Linked DNA regions of Homo sapiens: region 1 is linked to region 2. Evidence: promoter capture Hi-C in 16 types of primary human blood cells and fetal thymus (Javierre and others, 2016). All regions are on one chromosome and are shown on one strand. Each heading gives the region's core, a stretch centred on a gene start or on the middle of the fragment in contact. The rest is flanking DNA. Distances are from core to core; before and after follow the strand shown.

What was found. Contacts are between HindIII fragments. The CHiCAGO score rates a contact against its expected background, and 5 or more counts as called.
Region 1: a fragment that was not itself captured here is called in contact with the fragment with the promoter of LRRC58 in region 2 in 1 of 17 cell types (fetal thymus); the score reaches 5.7 in fetal thymus.

What each region holds. Positions count from the first base shown.
Region 1 is chr3:119,293,595-119,298,987 of GRCh38, reverse strand. ARHGAP31 (Rho GTPase activating protein 31) reads right to left here and starts at 4,605. Exons shown (of 12, transcript NM_020754.4): 1 at 3,984-4,605. The coding sequence starts at 4,083. It also overlaps the pseudogene RPS26P21. RefSeq lists enhancers at 1,204-1,273, 5,133-5,182 and a silencer at 4,173-4,292. The HindIII fragment of the contact is 3,536 bases long and covers 1-3,018 here.
Region 2 is chr3:120,347,418-120,353,302 of GRCh38, reverse strand. It overlaps LRRC58 (leucine rich repeat containing 58), which reads left to right and starts at 3,949. Exons shown (of 4, transcript NM_001099678.2): 1 at 3,949-4,559. The coding sequence starts at 4,060. It also overlaps the pseudogene BTNL12P. RefSeq lists a silencer at 3,954-4,283 and an enhancer at 4,634-4,683. The HindIII fragment of the contact is 1,696 bases long and covers 2,971-4,666 here.

The DNA.
Region 1 (5,393 bases), core at 1-2,500, 1.1 Mb after region 2:
AGGGCAACACCTGCACATGTAAATCAGGGTGGGAGTGTTTGGTCCTTGCAGGCTTCACGAGATCAATTCCTGACTACCTTGCTGTGAATGGCACAACTCACACAATAATGTAGCTTTACATACAACTTCGGAAGTATATAGGCGGTGAAGACGCTTGCTTCAGAAATGTCCCTGACAGCGGTGGCCTCTACTGTGTTTTGGATGAGGAACTTCTTAATAGCCTTGTCCTTGGGCAGGCATTGGGCGCAGATGGTGCAGCGAACAGGCTGCACGTGGCTGCAGCCCTTTTTGGCACAATCGTCGCCCCTTCTTTTCTTTGTCAGCTTGGAAGCTCGGTATCACTTTTTACCAGGGAGTGGGTAAAATAAACAAAGATTGCTCAGAGGAGCAAGAAAATCCTCAGCCATTAAAGTAAAGCCAACCCAGAGGAAGAAGATAATTTTCCCTATAACTCTCTCTTACTTGTCTCTTGGCTCCTGGCCCCAACCATCTCCAAGCTCTAATAGAAGACCCAGAACACTTGGCATATGAAGGAGAGGTAGGAAACAACCATGGGCACATTATGACCTCGCAGAGCTTCACCCACAACCTCCCAACCACAGACAGCAACATGATGTGGTTTTCGTTATACAGCTGCAAGCAAGGGCCTTCTTATTCAGTGGTCAAGAAAAGAAAAAGAAAACTATACTATTTTCAGCAGCAGCAGTAAGGAAGGGATGATCTCCCTTTATTCCAGACAGGAAGAGAAAGTTAGCTGGTTCCCAGGGGAGAGCTGGGGGTTGGGGGCAGCAGCCACTGTGTTGGAGGGGAAGTGCAAGAGGCTCTTGGCAAGTCTGCCAGGAGCCACTTCATGCCATTCTTGAGTGTTCTTACCTGGCTAAGAGTGTTCATTGCTCCCTTCTTACCAAGTTAGAGAAAAGTGGTCAAAGAAGGGGGAAAATTGGTCCTGGATATCAGGCCCCCCTGTGTAGCCAGTGAGGGGTGATCACAGCAGGGTCTGAAATTGGCATCTATGTAGATACCTGCAGAAATTGCATACACGGTGTGTGTGTGTGTGTGTGTGTGTGTGTGTGTGTGTTTCTAAGGAAAGGGTTTCTGTTTCTCATCAGCTTCCCAAAGATTAAGGTTGACAACTGGCCCTGAGCAATGTCTGCCCTAAGCTGAACACCTATTTGTAAACCACACACCCAGCCTTGTCAGGTTTGTCCAGCTGAAAGTAGCAGGGCTGAGCCTCAGCAAATTACAGAAGCATATGACATTCATTCTGTCTTCAGCCTTTGTCTCTCCAAAGTTCCCACTCAAGCATGTGGCGTCCCCATGTTCAGATGCCCTGAGCATAGCTCATCATCACCCCGCTTTGTCCTCCACTCCAACTCAAGGCTTTCCTTCCCTGTCCAAAGACAGGAGCTCTCTTTGCCTCCCTAAATCTTTGGTCTTCTCCCCTTGTACTCCCAAACCTGAACCTATCTTTCCTCTCAATGCAGGTCTACTGCACCACCTTTGACCTTCAAAGTTCAGTAACCATGATGTCAGTCCAGGGAGCCCTTCTCCAGCCCCCTGGCTCCCAGTTACCACACTGACTTGTCACCCTCAGCATTCTGGGCTGATCTTCCAAGGTGGTGGGCAGAGGGCCAGTTCCCAGCTCAGCTTTTCCTCCCAGAAGCAGAGTCCAGGCCTTGTCTATGAATCAATACATGTTTGGGAGAGTCCACAAAGAAGCAACATTACTTTAGAGAAAACCATTAGCACTGACTTTGTTCATTGATGCTACACTATCACAAATACACAGAAAAAAACCATCCAACTAGTTTTAGCTGAGGGAAAAAATAAATTCTAATTACTCTTATTTCCATAAGCAGTATATTATGCATGTCTAATTTCCGTGTAGCACAATAACAGTGTGTGGATCATTAAGTGGGTCAGTTGCGTTTCCTTTCAAAGCTGAACTCTCATCAGGTATGTTCAGTCTTCAAAGTTTGCTGATCCTGTAGCAGGGCTGTCTGCTTTCAATTTAGGGGGAAAATATCATTAGAAGAGAATGTTGGCTTAGACACAGAAGCCAGGGAGGGCAGAGGAACCTAACAGGCCAGGGAGGGCCCTCCGATCCTTCATGATTAGCTGTACAACCTCAGGCAGGCCAATTTACCCCTCTGGGCTTCTTTTCCCCCTCCCCAGGGTGGGGAACCCGGGGTACTGGTTTGCCATTCTTTTAAGCAGTAGTCTCTGTTTTTTTTTGTCTAAATGAAACATATGCAGAAGCCCAAAATATAAAGCAGGTGAAAGAACAGCTGCCTAAAGCTGCCTTTGACATATCTTCATAGAACCCTGGGGTTCTGGCTCATCCTATAATCTATTAGTTTGTAAGAACGAACAGGGCTGGCAAGCACCCCTATGCAACTCTCACAGATTTGAGGGAGGGGCCAGAATAACACCCGCATGGTGAAAGGTGGCATCCCAGGAGCATTCCTAGTGTACCTGGAGGTTAACTTGAAGGCCCCTGCAAAAATAGGTGAAGAGGAACCTTTCATTGTAAACTTCTGACGATAGTGGTTAAGAGGCATACTTGGAGTTTTCTCACACTCAAAAAAACTCAAACCAAGTGATTTTTATCTCAAATCTACCTCTCCAGATGGTTGGTGAGGATTCAATGAAGTGTTAAGTTATGCATCAATTTCAAAAGAGTCAGTTTTGAAACCTGTGGTTCTCCAAGCTCTAAAATCCTAAGCTATTTGTCCTAATGACACAGCAGACTGAACTCTAGAATACCACAGGAATATCACACCACTGCAAATTACTAGGTGGTGCTGAGTCTCCCAAAACACAGAAGTGAAACAAAAGCATTGCACTGTTTTTGAAATGCATATTCGATATGGACTAATCAAATAGGTTTTGAGATTATTTTCCTGGAGGCAGAATTATTCCGCACGGTTACACAGCCCTTAGTTTTCCCCTTTGTTGTATCTATCTATGTATAAACACATGGCCTATATAGTAGGCTATTTTCCTCTCGCTGAAGCTTCTGAAGACAAGGCCTTTTTGTCAAGGGTAAGTGCAAAACCAGTCAACCTTACAAAAGGAGTCATTTAATGCTCAATTTTCCAACTTTCCTATGATTAAACACTTCTAAGCTCAAACGCTGTTATTGTAATCTAGATGGTGTTTTCTTTCCCCCTTCCCCAACAAATGTTTAAATTGTCTCCGCTGGATTCCCCCATCCCCAACTCCCCCCTACCCCCATCTGACCTTGAAAACAGAGAAGTTTTCCTTTTCTCTACTTACCCTAAACTATTTAAAAATGGAGGCCCTCTGACCTTTTTACAACACTCTTCTTGTCTGACACACCAAATGTTAATCTGAAAGCCAAGAGGAGGGAAAAGGTCTTGCAGGGCGGGGAGGGGGTTGTGGAAAGGGGGTGGAGGTACTATATATTTGGCATCAGCTCAGAAATTCAGAAATGTTTGTGCAACCACTCCCCCAGCCAGGATCCTCCCCCACCCCCCACCCGCAACTGCCTTCTAACACATTAATAAAAAAAGATGTGAGCAGACGAAATTGGAGAGCCCAGGAGGGACAGCTAAGGCGGTCATGATTTTGTACCCAGGCAAGACCACTGATCACCATCCCACATGTCCACCCCTCCTCCCTCCCTTCCAACGTGCCAAGTTTAGGATTGGGACCTCTGCAGCTTCCACCCCCATCCCCTGAGGTGGCCCGGTAAACTTGCGGCAGTACCACCCATTAACAGCTTGTGTGAGGCAAACGGAAGGACTGACACAGCAGCCTCTGCGCGTCGGGACAGCAGCGCTGTGCACCTTAAGAATCGTTTATGTTCTTTAAAAAAAAAAAAGAAAAAAAAGTGCAATGAGCGCACAGGCCTGGAATACATTAACTTGTGAACCGACTCTATCACAACTCGAGAGAGTCCGTCTCTCCCTCAAACAAAAAGAAGGTGGGGGCGGGGGAGAAAGGCCAAGGCACATTACCATCCTGTCCCGAGCTTTCCAGATACTCCGTCAGGTCACAGCCAAACGCGCTGGCGGCTCCCTTTCGTTTCAGCTTCTGCTTAGCACCCTTGTTCTTCATGAGTTAGTCCCAAAGAGGCTGCCCCTCCGTCTCTGCCGCCCCTCTGCTTGGCACCGCTGTAAGATGGGCTCCCGGGCTAGATCACCGGCTGCCCCGCGGCTCTGGGGGGCCGCATCGGAAGATGGAAGAACTTGGGCTGGGGGCCCTGCGCATGGACCCCGCGGGCCGCGGGCCGGCAGAGCCTGAGATCCACCCCGCGCCGCTCCGGGGCCGCCGTGCCGAGGCCGTGCAGACTGGCAGCCGCGGGCCGGCTCGCCTGGGAGTGTCACTTCCTCACTTGGAGTCCTAGGGACTTTCACAGGCTCCTGCGGTGTCTTCGGGTGTTTCTCCTCAGCTTAAGAGGGAGGGCAAGCTCTCCCCACCCCTTACTAAGTGCCCCGGAGACGACGCGGACGCGGGGCGAGGAGACTGCCCAGGGGGCTGCGGTGGGTCCTGCGCCCTGGGCCCGCTGTCTCGCCTTCAGACGACTTTGGTAGAGCGAAAAACAAGCATCCTGTCGCTGCTGCCCGCCCTCACGCCTTCCTTTTTTTCCTGTCTTACAAATCCTAGGATCATCCAGCTCAGGAAATGCTGGAAGGAAGTTAGCTAGGGAGGGGGGCGGTGGGTGGAAATTTTTGGCAGCTCGGTGCTTGTGAGTGTGTGGAGCTAGAGGAAGTAGGTGGGTGGGTTGAGGAGCACGGGGTTGGGGTAGAGAACGCGTTCTCCCGAGAGCAGTTCTGCGACTCCAGAGATAACTGGGCAGCCCCGGAGGAAATCGCGCTCTTCTCGCAGGACCCGCAGCCGCAGCCGCCGCTTCCTGCCCCGCCGAGCCGGCTCTTTGAAGTGGCGGGAGGAGGTGCGCTGGCATTCTGCGGGGACCGTGCTGGTTGGGACTTTCAGAACCCTCTGCCCTGGTTTTATCCTCATTGTCATCGTATCTTTGACACTTTCTATTTCGGTGCCCGCCTGTCTGCTACGCAAATACTTAAAGAGTAATGACAGAGACAAACAGGGGACTCCAGCGGAGAAACCTGACAGGCAGTGGCTTCACGCCGGCCACTCCCATCCCAACCTCCTCTGCAGCGTTCGTGCACCCCCACCTCAGCTCACTCCCCTCCCACTCTGGGGTAAAGATACCCCTGGGCAAAGAGAGGCTGCAGCTTTGTAACCACTGCCCAGGAAATCAGATTTCTGGTTACATATTCAAGACACACACACACACTACTGCAAAGTTTTCTAAATGGAAGTGATTTGGGGGGGACAAACCAGGATTTAAGATGCCTCTGACACATGAAATGTGAAGAAAGCAGTCTCCCAGGTTCTTTCATAAT
Region 2 (5,885 bases), core at 2,700-5,199:
CTCCTAACTAGAATGGTTTATGAAAGGATTCTCTACTTAGATTATTTCTTGTTTTTTCTGCAGTCAGTAGGTCAATAGGGCCTATTTAAGTAAGGTATGTCAAAAACTATTCATGCATTTATTGCGTTCACTCACTATTTGCTGCCTACGATGTCTTGGGGGATACCATGGTAAACAGATGCAGTTCCTGCCTTCAGGAAGCCTAGAAAGGGTAGCTGAAGGAGGAGGAGAATTCATTTGGTCTCCTAAATGTCCAATACTATTCCAGTCAAGAGACTTATCTTGAAATGTATTCAATTGGCCAAGCCTGACATAATGGTGAAGTTCTGATAAGTGGACAAACAGGCCATGTACTTTCCCAGTTCCCTGTAACCCATGTTCCTTTCCCTATGTAACATATTCTGTTGTCTCCTCTGTCCTTTACCTTCTCCAGTGCCTCCACTCCCCTCTCAGGCATCTCTTTCAGCTAGCCACAGATGAACCCCATCACTGTGGGGGTTCACAAGCCACCACAGCTCTTTTACCTCCCAGAAAGTTTTCAGTATTCTCCAGGCTGACTGGAGGGTTTCAAGGGCCACTGTAAGATTGGGGGATGCTGCTTCATTTAAACCCATCTGGCTGCAGTGAAAAGAGATACATCCACGTTAGCTAAGATAGAGAAGGGTTATTATACTGGGCAGTAAGAAGATGCTCACATTTAATCCAGCTGTTAACAAGTTGGCCTCAGTGAAGCTGCACCTGGTGCGTTACTCTGGATATGAGGCAGTCCTAGATTTCAGCAGCAATATTTTATGAATCTTCACACTTATGTTTCACAATTGACAAAAAATTAGCGACATTCCCCATGTCTGCTTCTTTCTGATTCAACTGTAATTTCTTTCTGATCTGCCACCAACTGGAATTTCCCTCTGGGTTCTTTGGATTAAATTCCTGGGCGAGTGAGAAAAAAAAATAATCTCTGCTTCTGTTTGGGCAGTGCCTTATAAGTGACAGGCCACCAGGCAGTCTGTTGATGGGCTTACCTTGGTCAGATGTCCACTATGGCTCCGATCAACATAGGTTCTAAAGTGACGTCATATGATACAAGGACAGCACCCCAAATTATGTTTGGTTCAGGTGCCTCTGCTCCAGTTTTGTGTATGAAGCCCACAAAACCCCCAATCCTTAAGACAAGTGCCGTATAATTCCAACAATCACAATATTTCAAAGTACCATCAATGGATAGATGCCACTTGTAATACTGACACTATTTGGAAGATCTTATTGCTTTGAATCATTTAAAACAAAAAACAAAAAAAACTAAGCTCAAGAGAGCAGTGTAGTGTAGTGGAAAGAACATAGACTTTGGAGCCACACAGCCCTAAGGCTGAATTTCTAATTAGCCTTTCACTCTCTGTGATAGCAGACTTTACTCATCATTTTTGAGCTTGAGTTCCCTCATTTCTAAAATGCGGATAAACATTCTTATTTATAAATGTGGCGATAAGTAGAATTACATTTTTTAAGGTTTGTGATAAAAGGTGTTTGATAAATAAAAATTCCTTTTCAACTAAAACTTAATATTTACAAATATATTCAGTGTTTCAAAAGATATAGAGTACCTGTACCTACTGTGGAGCAGGCACTGTTAGGGGATGGGTATATAATAATAAGACAGTTCTTTTCAAGGACTTTACAATTTACTCTAATTATTCAAAAAATAAGTCCACTAACTAAGAGATATATCCAACTCAGTCAATCCAAATTATTTGCAAGAAATCATACTAGGCAATGGGGGATGGTGGTGGTGTGAGGGAGAATCCAAAAATGAATAAAGATAGTCATTCTATGTAAGTAGGAACCTACTCTAATTGGACATGAGATGTGCATTTTACACTGAAATTTACAGTTTCCTTGCCAATAGCTTCAATGAGGCAGAAACACAGTTTTCAACTTTTAGAAAGCAGTTTCTCAGTTATCTTAGCTGCTCAATGGTCTGGTTACATTTATCCTAAATTCAACAACCAAATAGTTGGAGACTTTATTAAATTAAAAGCTCCTAGTACAGCGTTGCAAGCAGTAGGTTTTCAAAATTTGTCAGGTTACTCATTTCTTTACCTACACCACTTTTTTTCTACTTCCTTTCCTTTATTCTATATAATGTGGAGTTCCCATACTAAGTATTTTTTTCCAAACTTTCTACTAGGAAGCCTCATTTGCTATTATTGAGGTTATCTTTTTCCCTTTAATTCCACTGATTTGTAATCTTACCTCTTATTTTATTTTTCTTGAGACAAAAAAAAAAAAAAGTGCAGGGCAGTGGCACAATCATGGCTCTCTGCAACCTCTACCTCTTAGGCTGAAACAATCCTCCCAGCAGCCTGTGTAGTAGTTGGCACCACAGGCGAGCGCCACTAGGCCCGGCTAATTTTTGTATTTTTTGTAGAGACGGGGTTTCCCCATGTTGGCCAGGCTGGTCTGGAACTCCTGACCTCAGCGATCTGCTGGCCTGGGCCAAAGCACTGGGATTACAGGCATGAGCCATGGCACCTGGCCAACTCTTATTTCTGAATTATGTTTGAATCCTTTCTTTTTCTCATTTTACATTACGTTCCTATCACTTTTTAAAATCCAAGATAAATATTTTAAAGCAAAAACAACTATTATTTTAAATATTTGTTATTTTCAGATATTAGGACTACTGTTAGAATGCTGGCTTGACCCAAAATAAGGTCTGTTCTTAAAAGGACTCTTTCAAAACAGATGACTCATCAGTTTTAAAAAGCATTCCACCATTAGCTTAAACATACAAAGTACGTCCTTCTAGGACTACCACTCAATCAGAAATTAAAGTTTGACTGCAGAGTAAAGGCATAGTTTCTCATACAAATAAATGACTGGCAAGAAAAAAACGACTTTCCTTTTTTAAGGAGGAAAGCAATTTAATGTCGTTGATTATACACGACCACTTAACTTTCTTATGTATAAGCTTTGTTAAAAAAAAAAAAAGCTAAGCATTTTTTCTCATTTCTATTCATTACTTTTCAAAATCATAAAATGTAATTTCAGAAAAGATTGAGTTTGGGACAAGGATGAAAAATACGTTAATTAGAATTACTAAATTAGTACCAGATCAGGATTTTCCCAAACTGTAGTTTTGACCTGCAGTACAAACTCTATGCTTTGAGTTTTTAAACTAACTCATTAATTTGAGCTATCTCAAATCATGCAACCGCCTCCATATCTCCCAAATTCACTCCTAGACACAACTTACACCAAAAGCCACGTATGTGCTTCTACAATTAAAACGGGCAAAACGTCCTTACTTGATACACATTTCTGCCTTAAAAAAGAAAAAAATAATTCTGTGGGGCAAGTAGTGCGGGTGTTACCCATATTTTATGCATGGGGCAACTGAAATCAAATCCCTGCCCTAGGCTATTTAACAGCGGAACCTCCAGTAAGGGTCCGGGGGTTCTGAGGTCTAGTCCAGCTGCGTTCACATTTCGAGGTCGGCTTTGTTAATCCTCGGACTTTAAATTCCTGCGGTTTTCTGTCATGGAGCTAAATCACCACTAAATTACTGTGTGCTCACAGAGTCCTGCAGACACGGGCCCCACTTTTAAACTGAAAAACAAGCGGGGGACGGGGGGGGCACGTGACGCGCGAACCCTCAAGGCGAGATAACCGAACATCCTTGGGCTGTTTGCCGAGGCAGTCTTGTAGCCCTGGAATAGGTCACCAGGCTCCAGCGACTATAAAGCGCGGCCGCCGAAACCCGGTCCGGCTCAGATGACAATTTGGCAGCCTCTGGGTGTCTGCCTCAGTTCTGCGCAGCCCATGCTGCGCTCTTGCCACTCCGCGCCCCGCGCCTCGTGAGGCAGAGCCCGCCCCGGAGCGGCGCGCGCACCCCAGGACTCGCGTCGCGTGACTCGGCCAAGGCGCGCAGGGTTTGCGCCCGCCCGCGCCACTTCCGACTCAGCCCTCGGTTCAGGTTCCGGGGCGCCGCAGAGCTCCCGGCCTCTGGACCGCGCGCGGCGCTCTGGGGAATCCGGCGCCACGCGCCGTGCGGTGGCCAGGATGGAGGAGGCCGGAGCAGCGGTGGTCACGGCCGGGGAGGCCGAACTGAACTGGTCCCGCCTCAGCGTGTCCACCGAGACGCTGGAGTCTGAGCTGGAGGCGCGGGGGGAGGAGCGGCGCGGGGCGCGGGAGGCGCTGCTGCGGCTGCTGCTGCCTCACAACCGTCTGGTGTCGCTGCCACGGGCGCTGGGCAGCGGCTTCCCGCACCTCCAGCTGCTGGACGTGAGCGGCAACGCGTTGACCGCGCTCGGGCCGGAGCTGCTCGCTCTGCGCGGCCTGCGCACGCTGCTGGCCAAGAACAACCGGCTCGGCGGGCCCAGTGCGCTGCCCAAGGGCCTGGCCCAGTCGCCGCTCTGCCGCAGCCTCCAGGTGCTCAACCTCAGCGGCAACTGTTTCCAGGAGGTGCCTGCCTCGCTCTTAGAGCTGCGCGCGCTGCAGACCCTGAGCCTGGGCGGCAACCAACTGCAGAGCATCCCGGCTGAGATCGAGAACTTGCAGAGGTGAGCGGGTGTGTGCCGGAGGGTGGGGAGGCCTCGGGCGGTGTCCGGGAACCCTGGGGCGCCGGGCCTGGGCACCTCAACGTTTGTCACGTAACTATTTCCAAGCTTTCTCTTTAACTGTGCGGTAGTGAGTTCTGCCCAACCATCTCAGCAAGTTGTTGTAAATACCTAGTATGTTCGCATGTGTGACTGTTTGGTGTGTTGTGTTTGGCCTATGCAGATTCTCGAGGCATTTTTTCTGTCTTCCTTATTGAATCTGGGGCGTGATCCAAACTGAGTGGAAACTCAAAACAGATGTAAATCAGAGGTTGTCACTTCTTTGCTCAAAAGTCTTCCGTGGATTTCCATCTCTATAGATCAAAGTACGTGCCTTTGAGCGTGGCGTACAAGGTGCTCTGATCTAACCCTTGCTTTCCACTACATTTGCAGCTTCCTCTTCTCTGTGGCAGTACCAACTACCATTTGTGGAGTTCAGTGACCTATGCATTTTCCCACGTAGAGAAAGCAGCTTGGAGTTGCTGGTAGGCACTCAGTATGTGTTGAATGGATGCAGTGCCTCTGTACACGTGCTGTTTCCCTTGCTTGGAATGTTTCCTTCACCTGGCAAACGCCTATCATCCTTCAAAAGCTATCTCAAGTTAATCATCTCTGTGATTCCTTTTTTACTACTCCCTGCACAACAATTTTTTTCGTTACTACTCCCTGCACAAAAAAGTACAGCCTATGCTGTACTTTCTCTGTGCTTCATTCATCTTGCCTTTGCATTTACCTTATTGGATATGATTCCTTGTTTACAGGAATTATCTGCTTCACCTACTAGATTATGCAGTAAATATGTTAAATTTAACTTTAGGAGGAAGCAGAGAAACAGGATAATAAAAGTGCCCGGTGGGGGAGTGGGAAATAGAGCCAAATGTATTGTACAAAACGAAAAAGAGGTATCTTCCATCTGTAAGATATTTTCACACTTTATTGTATTTTCAGAGATAACAGAACGTTAAAGGTAGAAGGGACCTCAGAGTTAAGTGGAGCAAAAGAATATTGGCCTGGGAAGGCCGGGCGCGGTGGCTCACGCCTGTAATCCCAGCACTTTGGGAGGCCAAGGCAGGTGGATCATGAGGTCAGGAGATCGAGACCATCCTGGCTAACAAGGTGAAACCCCGTCTCTACTAAAAATACAAAAAATTAGCCGGGCGCGGTGGCGGGCGCCTGTAGTCCCAGCTACTCGGGAGGCTGAGGCAGGAGAATGGCGTGAACCCGGGAAGCGGAGCTTGCAGTGAGCCGAGATTGCGCCACTGCAGTCCGCAGTCCGGCCTGGGCGACAGA